Linked DNA regions of Homo sapiens: region 1 is linked to region 2. The links are contacts of gene promoters, found by promoter capture Hi-C in human tissues and cell types (Jung and others, 2019). All regions are on one chromosome and are shown on one strand. The core of a region is centred on a gene start or on the middle of the fragment in contact, and the rest is flanking DNA. Distances in the headings are between cores, read along the strand shown. Region 1 overlaps SDHC (succinate dehydrogenase complex subunit C). Region 2 holds the start of FCER1G (Fc epsilon receptor Ig).

Region 1 (4,160 bases), core at 862-3,361, 130 kb before region 2:
GGAGTTCAAGACTAGCCTGGCCAACATGGTGAAACCCCGTCTCTACTAAAAATACAAAATTAACCAGGCATGGTGACGCGTGCCTGTAATCCTAGCTACTGGGAAAGCTGAGGCAGGAGAATCACTTGAACCCAGGAGGTGGAGGTTGCAGTGAGCCGAGATTATGTCACTGCACTCCAGCCTGGGAGACAAGAGCGAAACTTGGTCTCAAAAAAATTTTTTTAAACTAAAGAGAAAAAAAAGGTATTATCCAAATTTGTGGACAAAAATACTGAGGCTTGGTGGCAGGTGTGGTGACAAATAACTTTTTCAAGGTAAGGTCTCACAGTTAGTGACAGAGTTAGAATTGAACTCAGATCTGTCTCATTCCAAAGTGCACTTTTTTCACTTTTTCTACACTCAGTCTGGAATAACCAGGATTTCTAAAGTATAACAGATGATATTTAAGAATCAATAACTAATATCCCATCTCATGACAGAAGAAAAACACAGTCATTTTCAAAGCCCATCAGTTACTTTATGAATCTGTAAATCTTTTGGCTTTTCTAGAGAATAGGCTACCTGCCTGAGCAGCAGGTTTGCCTACAAATTCAGGCAATCTCTCACAAAAGTTCTGATTCTTCCATCTGACCCTGTTTTTATTTTATTTTTTATTTTTATTTATTTTTATTTTTGAGATAAAGTCTCGCTGTCACCCAGGCTAGAGTGCAGTGGCATGATCTCGGCTCACTGCAACCTCTGCCTCCTGGGTTCAAGCGATTCTCGTGCTTCAGTCTCCCAAGTAGCCCACGTTACAGGAATGTGCCACCTACACCCAGCTAATTTTTTATATTTTTAGTAGAGATGGGATTTCGCCATGTTAGCCAGGCTGTTCTCAAACTCCTGGTCTTAAGCAATCCACCTGCCTTGGCCTCTCAAAGTGCGGGGTTTACAAGCGTGAGCCACAGCACCTGGCCTGACTGTTTTTAAAGACTACCCAAAACATGCAGGACCATTCTTATATCCATTCAAGCTAATTGTACAATTCATATACAGATACATGAATATCTGTATATATTGGTTCAAAGCTTAAAATATCTGTTGTTTAGTATCTTTATTCTCTCTTCCTAATCTCATGCTTTATGTTGTATGTTTTATCTTGTTATTTATGATTTCCTAGACTCATTCATTATTGCAACTTCAGCTATCTGCCATTCTCAAGGCATGTACCTAAATTCAACTAGACTTTTATAGGAAAAAGTCAAATAGACTTTTTCTGTCACTATGAAAAATCCTGAGTATTTTTATTTATTTATTTTTGAGACAGAGTCTCGCTCTGTCACCCAGGCTGGAGTGCACTGGTGCGATCCTAGCTCACTGCAACCTCTGCCTTCCAGGTTCAATTCATTCTCCTGGCTCAGTCTCCCAAGTAACTGGGATTATAGCCATGCGCCACCCACAACTGGCTAATTTTTTTTTTTTTTTTTTTTTGGATTTTTAGTAGAGATGGGGTTTCACTATGTTGGCCAGGCTGGTCTCAAACTCCTGATCTCAGGTGATCCACCCGCCTCAGCCTCCCAAAGTGCTGGGATTACAGCCATGAGCTACCGCACCCAGCCCTGAGTATTTTAATCTTTATGGATCCTAAGCAATATAAGAGTGCTATTAGTCTCCTCTTTCAACCTTTCAAAACATTGCAGGCCAGGCGCAGTAGCTCATGCCTGTAATCCCAGTACTTTGGGAGGCAGAGGCAGGCGGATCACTTGAGGTAAGGAGTTCAAGACCAGCCTGGCCAACATGGTGAAATCCCGTCTCTACTAAAAATACAAAAATTAGCCAGGCATGGTGACACATGCCTGTAGTCCCAGCTACCTGGGAGGCTGAAGCAGGAGAATTGCTTGAACCCAGGAGGAGACAGAAGTGCAGTGGGCCACGATGGCACCATTGCACTCCAGCCTGGGCGACAGGGCAAGACTCCATCTCAAAAAAAAACAAACAAACAAAAATTGTCAAGTTTCTTTTTAATAAATTCTATTTTAAAGTCAAACTAGTGTTAACATGCTTTTTAAAATTTATATATTAGCCATAAAATCTCTATAGTTAAAATAAATAACTTATTTTGTATTTATCCAGGAGGCCAGCTTGTCCTGTTACTGGAACAAAAGAGCACATGAACTTTTAATGGCTTTTCATGGTCTACAGCATGGCAGTCAAAGTCCTTCACCATTTGGCCCACTTTCTAGCCTTATCTTCTGTCACTTCTCCCATAAACATCATTCTTTTTTTATTTTTTGAGACAGAGTGTCACTCTGTTGCCAGGCTGGAGTGCAGTGGCGTGATCTCGGCTCACTGCAACCTCCGCCTCCTGGGTTCAAGCAATTCTCCTGCCTCAGCCTCCCAAGTATCTGGGACTACAGGCACATGCCACCATGCCCAGCTAATTTTTGTATTTTTAGTAGAGATGGGGTTTCACCATGTTGGCCAGGATGGTCTTGATCTCTTGACCTTGTGATCCACCTGCCTCGGCCTCCCAAAGTGCTGGGATTACAGGTGTGAGCCACCGCGCCTGGCCCCATAAACACCATTCTTAAGAAACAGACCTCAGCCGGGTGTGGTGGCTCATGCCTGTAATCCCAACACTTCAGGAGGCCGAGGTAGGTGGATCACGAGGTCAGGAGTTCAAGACCAGCCTGGCCAAGATGTTGAAACCCCAACTCTACTAAAAATACAAAAAAAATTAGTTTGGCATGGTGGCAGGTGCCTGTAATCCCAGCTACTCGGAAGGCTGAGGAAGAAAATTTCTCTAACCTGGCAGGCGGAGGTTGCAGTGAGCCGAGATCGTGCCACTGCACTCCAGCCTGGCCGACAGAGCGAGACTCCATCTCAAAAAAAAAGGAAAAAAAGAAACAGACCTCGTCATAATCATCCAATGATCCGGGAGATTTCCAATCCCTATGCCTTTCCATAAAGGAATTTCTCTGTTGGAATGCCCTCCTCTACCTCCTCTTCACAAACTCTCCTGTTCACACTTCTTTCAAGCCTTCTAACTCCCTCAGAGTGCTGTCAACTCTGTGTCCTGAGTTCTGCATCCATGGATTCTGCATCTGTGGATATACAACTAACTGTGGATTGAAAATATTGGGTGGGGGAAATGAATGGTTTTATCTGTACTGAAAACGTACACTTTTTTTTTCTTGTTATTATTCCATAAACAATATAACTATTTACATAGCGTTTACATTGTATTAGGTATTATAAGTAATCTAGAGATAATTTTAAGTATATGATGTACATAGGATATATCCAAATACCACATCCTTTTATATAAGGGACTTGAGTATCTGTAGATTTTGGTATCTGAGGAGGAATCCTGGAACCAATCTCCAACAGATAATAAGGGACAACTGTATTTGTTGGTTTCTCCTCTGGGGTCTCATATCTCTTATTAAAAAGCTATCATGGCCGGGCATGGTGGCTCATACCTGTAATCCCAGCACTTTGGGAGGCCAAAGTGGGCAGAACACCTGAGGTCCGGAGTTCGAGACCAGCCTGACCAACATGGAGAAACCCTGCCTCTACTAAAAATACAAAATTAGCCAGGCGTGGTGGTGCATGCCTGTAATCCCAGCTAGTCGGGAGGCTGAGGCAGGAGAATCACTTGAACCTGGGAGGCAGAGTTGTAGTGAGCTGAGATCGCGCTATTGCACTCCAGTCTGGGCAACAAAAGCGAAACTCTGTCTCGAAAAAAAAAAAAGCTATCACAGTGCATTATAAATATTTGTCTTACTCCTTAGATTCCTCTATCCTTGAGAGTAGAGACTATATATTATCCCTATCTAATTTCTAATGTGTAACAGGAGGTTAATTAGAAGGTGGGAAAAATGAACACTTCTAAGTGACCACTATGAGCAAAGTGATTTACATGGGTATGTTCATTTAGTAAATAAAGATTTTCTAAGCACCTATTGAGTGCTAGAGGGTATGAATGGTAAATAAGATAGATAGAGTATCCACTCTTTGAAGACTTTACAGTCTAATAAAAGACGCAGATTTGGCTGGGCGTGGTGGCTCACGCCTGTAATCCCAACACTTTGGGAGGCTGAGGCGGGCAGATTCCTTGAGGTCAGGAGTTTGAGACCAGCCTGGCCAAATAGTGAGACCCTGTCTCTACTAAAAATACA
Region 2 (2,500 bases), core at 1-2,500:
ACCCATAGAAACAGCAATCCCGTCTGTTTGTCTTGGCTATATCCTTGCCTTACTCCCAAGCACAAGAACAGAGTCCTACCTTCCTAAAGGGTTATCTCTCTCTCTCTCTCTCTCTCTATATATATATATATATGTGTGTGTGTGTGTGTGTGTGTGTGTGTGTGTGTATGTGTGTGTGTGTGTATATAGATAGATAGATAGAGATATATATGTAAAATCTTTTTTTTTTTTTTGAGACGGAGTCTCACTCTGTCCCCCAGGCTAGAGTGCAGTGGTGCGATCTTGGCTCACTGCAACCTCCACCTCCTGGGTTCAAGTGATTCTCCTGCCTCAGCCTTCTGAGTAGCTGGAATTATAGGCACCAAGGGTGCTTTGTATATTAAACCAGCTAGAGATCAGCTCCCAGCAGACAAGACCAAAGGCACCCCATGGGAAATGCTCATCATGAGAAATGAGGCTTTTCACCAGACCAGCTCTTCATGCCATACAACCAGACCCTTCCCCTGCCACTTTCTATCAACCCTGAAAAGAGAAAAGTCAGCCAGGCACAGTAGCACTTTGGGAGGCCGAGGTGGGAGAATTGCTTGAGGCCAGGAGTTCAAGACCGATGTGGCCAACATAGTAAGACCCTGTCTTTTTTTAATAATAATAATAGCTGGGTGCAGTGGCTCACACCAGTAATCCCAGCACTTTGGGAGGTCGAGGTGGGTGGATCACTTGAGTCAGGAGTTCAAGACTACCCTGGTCAACATGACGAAACCCGGTTTCTACCAAAAATACTTAACTTAGCCGGGCGTGGTGGCGGGCACCTGTAGTCCCAGCTACTCGGGAGCCTGAGGCAGGAGAATCGCTTGAACCCAGGAGGCAGAGGTTGCAGTGAGTAGAGATTGCGCCACTGCACTCCAGCCTGGGTGACAGAGCAAGACTCCATCTCCAAAATAATAATAATAATACGGAGAAAAGTCTGGAATGAAGTAAGAAGGCAACAAGAAAGGAGGGAACTATGAGTCTAGTGCCCTGGGTCGGGGCTGGAGAGGACTAGCCTCAGGGTCTCCCTATGCCCACCTACCCACTGTCAGCCTTCCTTCACCTGTGTTTGACTTGGCCCTCAGACCCAAGCTCTGGACTTCCACCCTGGAGCCAGCTCACGCTATCCCTCACCAAACCCTCTTACCTGCTTGTTCAACCAAAAGGAGTAAGAGCAAGACCACTGCTGGAATCATCTTGGGCTGGAGATCGGCCGTTCTGACAGCACTGTGCAGCTGTGCTCAGCGAGCAGTTCCCTGACCACAGAGTCCCCCTCTTCCTGCCACGCCTTCCCCCATGCTTTGGCCCCTTCCCCTTCCTGCACAAGAGACCGGGCGGCTCCCGGAAGGGCCAACTAAGGGAGTTGGGAGATCTGGGCTCTTAAGCGTCAGCCCTTCAATGACCAACTCCTAACCCACAGAATGAGGAGACTTTCACGCTCAGGAAAGGCTGTCTACATCTGCCATTTTCCACTCCACCTGGTTCAGATTTTTTTTTTTTTTTTTTTTTTTGAGACGGACTCTTGCTTTGTTGCCCAGGCTGGAGTGCAATGGCGCCATCTCGGCTCACCGCAACCTCCGCCTCCCAGGTTCAAGCGATTCTCTCAGCCTCCCGAGTAGCTGGCATTACAGGCATGCACCACCACGCCCGGCTAATTTTGTATTTTTAGTAGAGATGGGGTTTCTCCATGTTGATCAGGCTGGTCTTGAACTCCTGATCTCAGGTGATCCATCCGCCTCGGCCTCCCAAAGTGCTGGGATTACAGGCGTGAGGCACTGCGCCCGGCTGGTTCAGAGATTTATCTGTGTGAAACTGCCCGTCAACATTCCCTCAGACCCCACTATAGCCCTTTCCCTCCCAACTTTACCCCAGGTCTTGATTTGAGTGGTTTACCAAGTTATGTGGGCACTGAGAAGGTTTGGGCAAGGAGGGAACTGAGGCGAAAGAGGAAATGGGGAATAGAGAAGTGGAAAGGACAAGAGTCAGAGAAGGGGGTGGAGACGAGCAGGAAAAATTGCTAAGACCTGACTGAATCTAACAGGAATGGAGGGTTAATGAACATTCTTAGGTTTACAGTCCGAGTGAAGGACACTAAGATACTGAGACACTAAGATACCAGAAGTTTAGGCCTAGGGGCCGCAAGACGGCTAATTTATTATAATTTCTCCTTTTTTAGTACATGCACAGAAAGCCTGACAGCCAAGTGTACATGAACATACACACACACACACACACACACACACACACAGAGGCCAATTTCCAGTGAGGAACAGGCTCCACAGAAGAAGCTGATAGGCAGGGGGGATCAAACGCTGCTCCCCTGCTCACCGATCTACTTCTCCAAATACAATATCTTGGGTACCTAGGTGAGAGGATGGAGGAAAAAAGTGATGTTACTTATCTTCCTGTTGTGAGGCAAAACAAACAAAAAAAGTGGTGTTACCCAAGATCCAGAACCCATTACTGTGCTCAA

What was found. Contacts are between HindIII fragments. The study calls those that stand out against the background at their distance.
Region 1: a contact is called between a fragment that was not itself captured here and the fragment with the promoter of FCER1G in region 2, in 4 of the 25 tissues and cell types used here (H1 embryonic stem cells, bladder, lymphoblastoid cells and 1 more).

Annotation. Positions count from the first base shown.
Region 1 is chr1:161,345,977-161,350,136 of GRCh38, reverse strand. The region is part of intron 4 of SDHC (succinate dehydrogenase complex subunit C); the gene reads right to left. Among named protein-coding and RNA genes, the nearest start is that of CFAP126, 20 kb to the left of the region's middle. The HindIII fragment of the contact is 5,263 bases long and covers 1-4,160 here.
Region 2 is chr1:161,214,045-161,216,544 of GRCh38, reverse strand. It overlaps FCER1G (Fc epsilon receptor Ig), which reads right to left and starts at 1,250. Exons shown (of 5, transcript NM_004106.2): 1 at 1,175-1,250. The coding sequence starts at 1,223. It overlaps NDUFS2 (NADH:ubiquinone oxidoreductase core subunit S2), which reads right to left. Exons shown (of 14, transcript NM_001377299.1): 14 at 2,150-2,389. The coding sequence ends at 2,352. The HindIII fragment of the contact is 8,503 bases long and covers 1-2,500 here.